Linked DNA regions of Homo sapiens: region 2 is linked to region 1. The links are contacts of gene promoters, found by promoter capture Hi-C in human tissues and cell types (Jung and others, 2019). All regions are on one chromosome and are shown on one strand. Each heading gives the region's core, a stretch centred on a gene start or on the middle of the fragment in contact. The rest is flanking DNA. Distances are from core to core; before and after follow the strand shown. Region 1 holds the start of GAST (gastrin). Region 2 holds the start of NR1D1 (nuclear receptor subfamily 1 group D member 1).

What was found. Contacts are between HindIII fragments. The study calls those that stand out against the background at their distance.
Region 2: a fragment that was not itself captured here is called in contact with the fragment with the promoter of GAST in region 1 in 1 of the 25 tissues and cell types used here (dorsolateral prefrontal cortex).

What each region holds. Positions count from the first base shown.
Region 1 is chr17:41,708,978-41,714,543 of GRCh38, reverse strand. It overlaps GAST (gastrin), which reads right to left and starts at 2,213. Exons shown (of 3, transcript NM_000805.5): 1 at 2,157-2,213. The HindIII fragment of the contact is 8,154 bases long and covers 1-5,566 here.
Region 2 is chr17:40,099,979-40,106,373 of GRCh38, reverse strand. It overlaps NR1D1 (nuclear receptor subfamily 1 group D member 1), which reads left to right and starts at 5,785. Exons shown (of 8, transcript NM_021724.5): 1 at 5,785-6,310. The coding sequence starts at 6,280. RefSeq lists enhancers at 2,533-3,412, 5,420-5,539, 6,020-6,089, 5,555-6,395. The HindIII fragment of the contact is 5,880 bases long and covers 1-5,105 here.

The DNA of each region.
Region 1 (5,566 bases), core at 964-3,463:
CGCCTCAGCCTCCCAAAGTGCTGCGATTACAGATGTGAGCCACTGTGCTCAGCCCAAGACTTGTTATTTAAAGTGAACTTTTTAGGCCAGGCATGGTAATCCCAGCACTTTGGGAGGCTGAGGAGGATGGATCCCTTGAGCCCACAAGTTTGAGACCAGCCTGGGCAACATACTGAAACCCCATCTCTACAAAAAATACAAAAATTAGCCAGGCATGGTGGCATGCACCTGTATTCCCAGCTACTTGGGAGGCCGAGGTGGGAGGATCGCTTGAACCGGGGAGGTGGAGGTTGCAGTGAGCCGAGATTGCACCACTGCTCTCCAGCCTGGGCGACAGAGTGAGACCCTGTCTCAAAAAAACAAAAACAAAAAGTGAAACTTTTAAATAGTAATACCAAAGGAACATGGACATCCAGCTGTGTTACAGACCGCATGTTATCACTTTGGAGACTGCAGCACATTCAATGCTTGGCCAGCTCACACTGATTTTTGTGCAGCCCTGAGAGGAAAGGTTCTCCTGTCATTTTTGCTTAACTGAGGAATATCCTGTGATTATAATGAAGCAGTTAAGAAAAAATTAAGCTGTCACCATTAGCAATTATGTATCAGGGTGAATCAAGTTTGGGGAAAACATAATACAGAACTAAACTGGAATCTCAAACAAACATAAAATTCAAATGCTCATCTATTCCCTGGACTCACTATTTTTGTATGCTTTTGGTCTCACTATTCTGATTGGCTTTATCATAAGAAAATGATAAAAATTTTCTCTTGTCAGAATACATTTGTATTAATAAAATACTGTACTGCTTTTAAGTTTTTCTTTTTTTCTTTTCTTTTTGTGAGACAGAATCTTGCTCTGTCTCCCAGGCTGGAATGCAGTGGCTGGCGTGATCCTGACTCGCTGCAGCCTCGACCTCTTGGGCTCAAGAGATCCTCCCACCTCAGCCTCCTGAGTAGTTGGGACTACAAGTGTGCACTACTATGCCCAGCTAATTTTTTTGTTTTTATTTTTAGTAGAGATGAGGTCTCACTATGTTGCCCAGGCTGGTCTGGAACTCCTGAGCTCAAGCAATCTGCTTGCTTCAGCCTCCCAAAGTGTTGTGATCACAGGCATGAGCCACGGTGCCTGGCCATTAAGTTTTTCATAATCAGGTTTTCTGTTAGGTTTTCTTTGGAAGAAAAGAATTCTGCTGCTGAAGAAATGTTTGAAAAATCAGTGATCTGGAGCTGTATTGTCAGATGCTAACCACATGTGTTGTTCAGTGCTATAGCCACCAGCCACATGTGGCTCTTTACATTTAAATTAATTAAATTAAAAAATTATGGTCAGGTGCAGTGGCTCACGCCTGTAATCCCAGCACTTTGGGAGGCTGAGGGGGTTGGATCACTTGAGGTCAGGAGTTTGTGACCAGCCTGGCCAACATGGTGAAACTCTGTCTCTACCAAAAATATGAAAAATTAGCTGGGTGTTGTGGCAGGCGCCTGTAATCCCGGCTACTCGGGAGGCTGAGTCAGGAGAATTGCTTGAACCTGGGAGGCAGAGGTTGCATGTCACTGCACTCCAGCCTGGGTGACACGGCGAGACTCTATATAAAAAAACAAACAACAACAACAACAAAAACTTCCTTACACTAACCCCATTTCAAGCGCACACGTGGCTAGTGGCTACCATATTGAACAGTGCAGATGAAGACCATTTCCTGCATCATAGGACGTTCTTTTGGATGGCACTGGTCTAGGAAAGGGCTTGAAGTGGGATCCAGGAGCTGTGGATTCCTATCCCAGCCTTGCCTAATAATCCCTGTGACTTTGGGCAAGTCACATCTTGCCTCTGGGCCTCAGTTTTCTTGTCTGAGAGAAAGGAGAAGAACCCCAGTCCTCCTCACCTCCCAGGGCTGGGAAGAGTGTGAAGGGATAGGCTAAGGGCAGGGCCCCGGCTGCGGCAGAAGGGCAGGTGGAAGGCAAGGTTGGGAATACCAGGGTAGGTACTGGAGCCAAGACCTAGTTCCATCCTGGGATAAAGAAAGGGTCCCAGCTCTGGAGACCCCAAGGGGTGAGCCCCAGACTCTGGCCAGTGGCCTGGTACCTTGATGGGGGAGAGGACCTGTCAACCCACTTCCTAGCCTCTCCCCTCTCCTCCTGGGTTTTCTCACCTGCAGAGCTGGGAGGTGTGTGGTGCCACGGCTGGGCCTGGTGCCTCTCAGGTCTCTGCTCTGCTTGATGCTCCAGGCCTGCCTTATAAAGCCCTCAAGGTCCCTCCCAACTGTCCCCCCACCCCGCCCCTACCCTGCCATATGAGTCCAGGCGAGAGGAATGGGGTGGGGCACAGGTACAGCCCATCACCCTGCCCCGCCCTTTCATTTAGTGTCAGTCAGTCATCCAGGATGTGGGGGAAGGATAGGGGAGTTGACCTTCATGGTGAGGGGCTGGAGCGGGGTGGCGGCAGCTCTCCAGCTGTACCTGAGGGGCAGGAACCAAGCTCCCTGGGTCAGGAGCAATGCTTCCCACCATATCCTGGGGGTCAGAGGCCTGGCACTTATCTCTCGAACTACATAGGGACCTTTGTGGGTGGTGGTAGGTGAGGGAGTGAACCCGATGGGCTTAGATTCAGGGAAAGTGGATTTCGCCATCCACTGATGTTTGGCAAGCGTGTGAATGTGGGGTGATGTATTGATTCCCCGTCCCCTCCACTGGACTCTGCAAACATAACGTGTTACCAGGAGCAATGGGTTGTGGGCTGATGGCCCTGTTCTCTCCTTCTAGTGGCTCACATCCTGGTCACCTCTGAAGTCCTTTCACCCTCCCCCTACCATGGAACACCCTTGGTGCCTTCTTCTCCTTAGGCCCTCTGTGCTGGGCTGGGTTTGGCTTGTAGCTGCCCCGTGTCTTCTAGGTCAGCTGCCCATGCACCACCACTTGCAAACCCCCTATGCAGAACCAATTCCTGGAGGGTCCTGCCTTTGAAGCCTCCTTCATTTTGCTTTCAAGGGGAGCTAGTAATCTGCATAACAACTTTTTTTTTTTTTTGAGACAAAGTCTAGTTCTGTCACCAGGCTGGAGTGCAGGAGTGCAGTGGTGTGATCTCGGCTCACTGGAACCTCCGCCTCCTGGGTTCAAGCGATTCTTCTGCCTCAACCTCCCTAGTAGCTGGGATTACAGGCGCACGCCCCCACGCCTGGCTAATTTTTTGTATTTTTAGTAGAGATGGGGTTTCATCGTGTTGGGCGGGCTGGTCTCGAACTCCTGACCTCATGATCGGCCCAGCTTAGTCTGCCAAAGTTCTGGGATTACAGACGTGAGCCACCATGCCCAGCCAACAACTTTTCAGTATCAAAATATACCTTCAAATGGTTAGCAAACAGACTAAAGCATTTGCCAAAGATGGACCAGAAAACAAAATGGTACCTTGTTGACTTATTTGATAAACTGCTGCCTCCACATGGTTTGACCAGATGTAATGAGCCGTAGGCTGTTTTTTACTTTTCCACTGTTGAGAGCAGAGATTTTGCTCCTGTTCATGCGTCATTGGGCCCCCACCTTTTCTGGGAGAGTTTGATCCCCTTGGGTATTGGGTAACTGCAGTGGTACCCATGCTTACAGCCAGCCTTGCTGAGAATTAATGGGTGATGAAGGAAGCAGGCTGTGCGGTGTCCATGGCAACTGACGGCTGAATAACCGTTGTGAATAACCACTCTCATCTAGAGCAGGACACGGTGACTCAGCAGATGGAATAAATGAAAACGACAAAAAGCAGTGCAGGCATTGGTGATAATTAATTGAATCACAGAATCTCAGAGATGAAAGGACTTTGAGGGGGCTTGGGAGAACAGGTGGGGTGAGTGTAGCTCTGTTCATACACTAGGGGAATGAATGAAGACATTCGTGTTGCTATGGTAACACTAATGGGAAATGATAAGTTTTCAGTAGAACCCTGGTTGTACCAGAGCCCAAGACTCAGTTTGTGCCCATGGAGGGGGTTATGCCCCCTTGAATGTTCTTCCCCAGGCTGGTTACATGAGGGATGACAATTTCAACAAATAGAAGCATGTCTCCTATTCCATAGGCAATGGTTAGAATGTCACTATTTGGCCAGGCTTGGTGGCTCACTCCTGTAATCCCAGCACTTTGGGAGGCTGAGGCAGGTGGATCACGAAGTCAAGAGATCGAGACCATCCTGGCCAACATGGTGAAACCTTGACTCTACTAAAAATACAAAAATTAGCTGGGCATGGTGGCGGGCGCCTGTAATCCCAGCTACTCGGGAGACTGAGGCAGGAGAATCGCTTGAACCTGGGAGGCACAGAGAGGTTGCAGTGAGCTGAGATCATGCCATTGCACTCCAGCCTGGTGACAGAGCGAGACTCTGTCTCAAAAAAAAAAAAAAAAAAAAAAAAAGAATGTCACTATTTGCAGACCCTGCCAGGTCTGCAGGGGAAGGGTTGCATTCAGAGATGAGCATCCTTGACCCTGAGGAGCTCCCCAGTCACGGACTGCACGTTCTCCTCATGAGGGGACCTCGTCTGATGGAAAAGGAAGGGTTTCCTGGTCCTGTCTTTTTCCAGCTGTTGAGCTTTGAGCATATTTCTCTCCTTCTCTGAGCTGTTTTCTCCTCTAGGAAATGAGGAAAGTAACTTGGGGAGGAGGGTCTCGTGAAGGTGATGTACATAAAGCGCCCTGCACGGTGCTCAAAACATTGCAGATATTTGGCCGGGTGCGGTGGCTCATGCCTGTGATCCCAGCACTTTGGGAGGCCAAGGCAAGCAGATCACCTGAGGTCAGGAGTTCGAGACCAGCCTGAACAACATGGTGAAACCCCGTTTCTACTAAAAATACAAAAATTAGCTGGGCGTGGTGGCACATGCCTGTAATCCCAGCTACTTGGGAGGCTGAGGCACGAGAATTGCTTGAACCCAGGAAGTGGAGGTTGGAGTGAGCCAAGATTGTGCCATTGCACTCCAGCCTGGGTGACACAGTGAGACTGTCTCAAACAAACAGACAAACAAAAGAGAATATCGCAGGTATTTAATCCATTTTGCGTCTTCTCCCCCATCCTCTCTGGGTCTCAATTAACCACATTTGGAAATAGGAATCATTCATTTGTACCTCATAGGGCTGCAGTGAAGGGAAGAGGTGACAAGGTCTGTGCACACGCTTTATACACTTGGGGGAGTTCTCCTTCCCCAAGGCTTAAAGGAGGGTAATTCCCTAAGCATATCACTCTGTGAATCCAAGGGTTTCCCTCCTGCCAGCTGTGACTCAGAGGGACCTCAGCCCAACTGCCACTGAAAGAGGCAGCAGGGATAGAGTCTATGGAAGCTGGACCTCCTGGTGTACAGGGGGTTTTGGAACTGGTGAGGCCAGGGTTTGAATCATGGCTCTAACACCGACTAGCTGGGTGAGCAGAAAATTCAATTTCTGGGCCTACCAAATTGAAGACCAGATCCCAGACCTTGGGACCCATCTCCGTCCCCCTCGAGGGTGCAGGTGTGTGGGCCCTGCCCCTGTCATCACAACGATAACAATGCCGTGTACCAGGAACTGATAAGCTCTTAGCATGAATGAA
Region 2 (6,395 bases), core at 916-3,415, 1.6 Mb after region 1:
AAGAAGCATTGGCCCAGGACAGTGGCTTTCGGAAGGGCTGGTTTTAGAGGTGCACGTTGCTCAAGCAGGTAAATGGGGAAGTGGGATGCTGTTTCCTTAAGGCTTTGGACACAACTTTTGTTGGTCCTTGGTGGCCTTCCACACGCTCCCTCAACCAATCTTCTTAATACAGCTCCTGGAATGAAGCACCATGGGACTTCAGAGGGCCCTGACCTACTTGCCCCACTCTCCTCACCACCAGCAGCAGACCCCAAATTCAGAGGGTTTGGGTAGAGAAGAGAGTTCAGACGCCTGTTTCTGTTAGTCACCTCTATAGCAGTCTGTGGTTTGTGCACCCTGTTCCTGCCCCTTCTACTTTTAGAACCAGATGAGGGAAATGTAGGACGGGGAGTGGGAAGAGTTTAGGGGAAGAGGAAATGTGCCTGGGGTTAAAAGAGAGATTTTGGAAAGCTGAGGTACTCCCTGGGACAGGGACAAGGGGTGCTTCAGGCTTCTGTTCTTGGTGATATATCCCACTTCCAAGCATCACCATTGCTTGGGAAACACCAGGATGAGTTTGCTGCTCAGACGTTCCCCTAGGGTGGCAGTAATCTCTCTAGGAGGGGCAGTCTTGCTAGCAGAAAGAGTTTCATCTTCACGCCTGGGGTTGAATCCCCAGCATTGCCATTTTCATTGTGACGCTGACAGTGGTAGTTCAAGAGATAGCTAGAGGGGAGATTTAGCCCCTCCAATAATCTCCATCCGCGCTATCATTCTTTGATGGACATCTTCTCAGTCTTAAGTGCTATGCAAATTACAGCTTCAAGACTAATCACCTAGACCCTCTGGCACCCTGGGCAAGTTAATAAAGTTCTCTAAGTCTCAGTTTCCCCATCTCTAAAATAAGAATGAGACCTACAGCATAGGGTTGTTGTGAATATTAAATGAGATAATGTGTACAAAACACTTTGCACAGTGCCTGGCATACGGTTGGTACTTAATACATATTTATGGTTTCCTTTCCTTGGAAAAAGCAGTAGTGAGGTAAAGATAGAATCTGAGGCAAAACACATCCATGGAACCCAGCCCTGGCTCATGCCTCGCCCTTGCTTTCTCCATCCCCCTCCCCCCACCACACTGAGAAACAAGTTAGCTCAGACTCTGTCCTTCCTGTGGCATGTTCTTAAAGTTCTCCCCAAAACATCCAGGCTTTGGGTGGGGTTGGGAAAGATAGCTGGCCTTTTAGAGACAAAGAAAAGGATTTAGGAGGGCAGGGAGTGAGTCTCTCCCAGGCACATGGCTGGTTCCCTGATTCAGGGGCATCCCCAGCATTTCTATACCAGGTTTGCATCACCTGGGCAGACAGGTTTCTACTCTGGGCAATGGTTTCTTGGTGAGAAAGGAGGGGGATGGGAAGGCATCTACAGAAGCCTGACCTGTTTCCAGCAAGGACCCACCCTCAGTCAGTCAGTCAGTCAGTCAGTCAGTCAGTCAAGCAGTTGGCCCAAGATTTAGGCCACCCAGAATTTGCACAGGGTGTTGCCCTGTTACCCAGAACAACCTACTGACAGGGAGAACAGATCTCAGATCAAACATGCACACCCACACACACAGCATTCACACTCACACACAAACATGCAGTCTCACTCATAGTCATAGAATCACACACACACACACACACACGTGCACACATACATAACTGACCAGAGCTTAGTGTTCTCAATACCTTTCCTTCTTCTCCTCTGTGTCTGCTGTCCTCTGCAGTCCAAATAAATCAAGGAAAATTAAAGACATATTTGGAAACACACAGGCAGGATCCAACACTGCCCCTAATGGGAAGGTTCGTCCCCAGAATCCCAGACTTGGGAATCCAAGTGGAAGTGTATGCAGAACCAGGGCAGTGCCTTGCTGTACCAGGTTGTGAATATGCATCTTTTCTACCTGGATCCAATCTGAGTACTATTTATGAAGAGTTAAGTGCTTTCTTGAGTTGAACTGGGCTATGGGAGAAATGGGGTGTGTGTGTGTGTGTGTAGAAGTGAACAGCAGGCCGGGCATGGTGGCTCACGCCTGCTATCCCAGCACTTTGGGAGGCTGAGGTGGGTGGATCACCTTAGGTCAGGAGTTCAAGACCAGCCTGACTAATATGGTGAAACCCCATCTCTACTAAAAATATAAAAAAAATTAGCCAGGCATTGTGGCGTGCTCCTGCAGTCCCAGCAACTTGGGACGCTGAGACAGGAGAATGGCTTAAACCCGGAAGGTGGAGGTTGCAGTGAGCCACTGCACTCCAGCCTGGGCGATAGAGTGGGACTCTGTCTCAAAAAAAAAAAGAAGTGAACAGCAATGTCCAGCTGGAGGGATAGGTGAGGAAGGTTGTGTTGAGATACACCTGTTGTCTTAAGGTCTTACAGCCAAGGTTGAGGTCAAAGAGAAACCAAGATTCTACTCCGAATCACCCAGAGCCAGACAACCCAGCCTTTCCCCCCTCCCTTTGGTGGCTTTGGGTCTCAGAGTTTCTGCCCTTCTCCCAGCAGCTGCTGACAGAGAAAGGAGCAGGGTACACAGACTGACTAGAAGCTTCTGGGGCCAAGAGAGAACCCTGCCTTTTCATTCTGTACTCCTCTCACCAGCTGTAGAAGAAAGACACCCGAATTACTTGTGAGGGAGAAAAGGAAGGGCCCTATAAGAAATGGAAAGGAAGGAAGGAAGGAGCAAGGGGGTAACCCCTCTCCTTTGCCCCCTCCCTCCCAGCCTCTGCCTTCACACCACACACAGACTGCAGAACCACCCAGGTTTTGCCAAGAGGAGAGTCAGGCTGACTGAATTTCAGCTCTCTCTACCTCTGCTCCCTCCTCCTTCTCACTGATTGCAGCAGGCGAGGAGTCTTGACCCACCCCAGCTCCCACTCCTAGAAGAACAAACATCCAGCAAGTATACAGGGGGTGGGTAGGACCTCCACAGCAGCAAACAGAGCTGTGGGCCTTGGGGAGGACCCCGGCCAAGTAAAGGGAGGGTGCTAGTGGTGGTGCTGTGCTGTGGGGAGCTAGATGCACGCCAGGGGTCCTGATTTTGAGTCCAGCCCTGACAGACACCTGGGCTCTGGCCCTGGCTCTGACTTGGAGTCAAGGTCACAGAGAGCAGGCAAGGGCAGGACAGGGCAATTCACCTCCTAGCTTTCCCTCCAGAGCCCAGAGGGTGGAGGGAGAGGGGGTGGAGGCTGAGAACCAAGTTTTCCTGAAAAGCCTCTTTCCTTGTTTGTTTTAGCCCCTCCCAGTTGCTCCCACACTCTGCTGCAGCTTCCCAACTCTGGGCCAAAGGGCCAGAGAAGAGCCCACTGCCCTCTCTCTCCCACTTTTCTTGGGAGCAGGAGAACAAAGCTAAAGCCTAGCCCATTCCAGGAAGCTCATCTTCTACAAGGAGTCAGAGGGTGAGTGGTCAAGCTCCTGCAGTCAACCTCACTGTCCTCACTACCCAGTTTACTCCTGTGCTCATATTATTATTCTTTTTTTTTTTTTCTTTTTTTGAGATGGAGTTTCGGTCTTGTTGCCCATGCTGGAGTGCACTGGCGCGATCTCAGGTCACTGCAACCTCTGCCTCCCGGGTTCAAGCAATTCTCCTGCCTCAGCCTCCCGAGTAGAGTAGCTGGGACTACAGGCGTGCGCCACCACGCCCAGCTAATTTTTGTATTTTTAGTAGAGACGAGGTTTCTCCATGTTGGCCAGGCTGGTCTCAAACTCCTGACCTCGGGTGATCCACCTGCCTCGGCCTCCCCAAGTGCTGGGATTACAGGTGTGAGCCACCACCACACTTGGCCTTTTTTTTTTTTCTTTGAGATGGACTCTCACCCTGTTGCCCAGGCTGTTGTGCAGTGGCATGATCTCGGCTCACTGCAATCTCCATCTCCTGGGTTCAAGCAATTCTCCTGCCTCAGCCTCCCGAGTGGCTGGGACTACAGGCGTGCGCCACCACGCCCAGCTAATTTTTGTATTTTTAGTAGAGATGGGGTTTCACCATGTTGGCCAGGCTGGTCTCGAACTCCTGACCTCAGGTGATCTGCCCACTTCAGCCTCCCAAAATGCTGGGATTACAGGTGTCAGCCACCACCCCCGGACTCCCATATTCTTTTTCTCTACCTTTTCGGTGGCTTTCATGTTTCCCAGGCATCCATCAATACCATCCCAGGAGCTGCCTGTGGAGAAGGGCTTCCTATGTGAAGAAAACCCTCTCTAGAAGCACTGGGACTGGGGAGGAATTAGCGGGAGCAGCAGGTGGCTCAGGCTCCCTCTCCCTTCGCTGCCTAAGAAGCTTCCATCCCCTCCATGACCCAAGCCCTCTAACATGATAGATCTCCTCTACTTGAGATCTGTTATTACTCATGGGACAGTTGCTGCTCTGAAGCGAAATACTGGCTGTTTTTTGTTTGTTTGTTTTGGAGACAGAGTCTCACTCTATCCCCCAGGCCGGAGTGCAATGGCGATCTCGGCTCACTGCAACCTCCACCTCCCGGGTTCTAGCGATTCTCCTGCCTCAGCCTCCTGACTAGCTGGGATTACAGGCACCCACCACCACATCCGGCTAATTTTTGTATTTTTAGTAGAGACGTGGTTTCACCGTGTTGGTCAGGCTGGTCTCAAACTCCTGACCTCAGGTGATCAACCCACCTCAGCCTCACAAAGTGCTGGGATTACAGGCATGAGCCAAAGCACCCGGCAATGCTGGCTGTTTCTAACCCCTGTTCAGTATTTCACTTGTACATCTACCCACCTTCCCATTCGGGGTGGGCAGATGAAACTAGCAATGGACGTCTGACCTTGGGTCGGTCACTTCTCCTAAGCTTCCTGTTCCCCACTAGTAAAAAGAGGGAGGCTTAAGATGATCTACATGTTCCCCTCTGAGTAGTAATCTTCTGTGGAATTCATATTTTATCCTCCAGCACCGAGGGGCAGGGGTGTCACTCTGCCCCCACCCCCTGCCTCACCTCTTCCCCATTACTTTAGGACCTCAAAGCACTTTCACTATTAGTTCCCCTCTGTTGTCCTTTTTATTTCCCAGACAAAGGGAAATGACTCACCCCAAAGTCAACTGGAGTGGGTGGAATGGTGTCATACAAGCAAACAGGGAGTCCCTACAGACATCCCTACCTCTGTGGGAACTCCTTCCCCTGGAGGTGTTCTCCCTAAGGCGAGTAGAAGGGAAAGGGGGTCACATTTCCTTTCCTTCTCTGGACTTTGCCCTGAAGCAGAGGGCAGCCTAAGCTCCTGACTCCAGGGAAATCTCCCTCCCCGGCTTCTCTCTCTCCCGGTCACCAGTAACCTCAGGACGAGGTCAGTCCTGCAATCACGTGAAGCCCTCACGTTTGCAAGGTTTGCAGAAAGGGCCTCTTAGCTTTGATCTCCCAGACAGCAAACAAGCTTGCCAGTCCCTCCCCAGAAATTCACATGCCCCTGCCATACAGGCTTTCTAAACACGCCACCCTGACTCTTCAGCGCACCCCACCCCACCCCACTCTCAGCTCCTCCCAGGTCCCGGCAAGCGCTTTGCCAGGCAGAAAGGGGAAAGGCACGCAGTCCGCCCACTTTGTCGGTGGACTACAAATCCCGACAGTCTTGTCGTTGCGCAGGCGCGCAAGAGCTCAACGTGCCGGCTGTTGGAAAAGTGTGTCACTGGGGCACGAGGCGCTCCCTGGGATCACATGGTACCTGCTCCAGTGCCGCGTGCGGCCCGGGAACCCTGGGCTGCTGGCGCCTGCGCAGAGCCCTCTGTCCCAGGGAAAGGCTCGGGCAAAAGGCGGCTGAGATTGGCAGAGTGAAATATTACTGCCGAGGGAACGTAGCAGGGCACACGTCTCGCCTCTTTGCGACTCGGTGCCCCGTTTCTCCCCATCACCTACTTACTTCCTGGTTGCAACCTCTCTTCCTCTGGGACTTTTGCACCGGGAGCTCCAGATTCGCCACCCCGCAGCGCTGCGGAGCCGGCAGGCAGAGGCACCCCGTACACTGCAGAGACCCGACCCTCCTTGCTACCTTCTAGCCAGAACTACTGCAGGCTGATTCCCCCTACACACTCTCTCTGCTCTTCCCATGCAAAGCAGAACTCCGTTGCCTCAACGTCCAACCCTTCTGCAGGGCTGCAGTCCGGCCACCCCAAGACCTTGCTGCAGGGTGCTTCGGATCCTGATCGTGAGTCGCGGGGTCCACTCCCCGCCCTTAGCCAGTGCCCAGGGGGCAACAGCGGCGATCGCAACCTCTAGTTTGAGTCAAGGTCCAGTTTGAATGACCGCTCTCAGCTGGTGAAGACATGACGACCCTGGACTCCAACAACAACACAGGTACTGAGATTTCTTTACTATCATCTTTTCCCTGTCACTGTCTCCCCACCTCCATCTACGCCTTATAAAAAGAGGAACTTTGTAA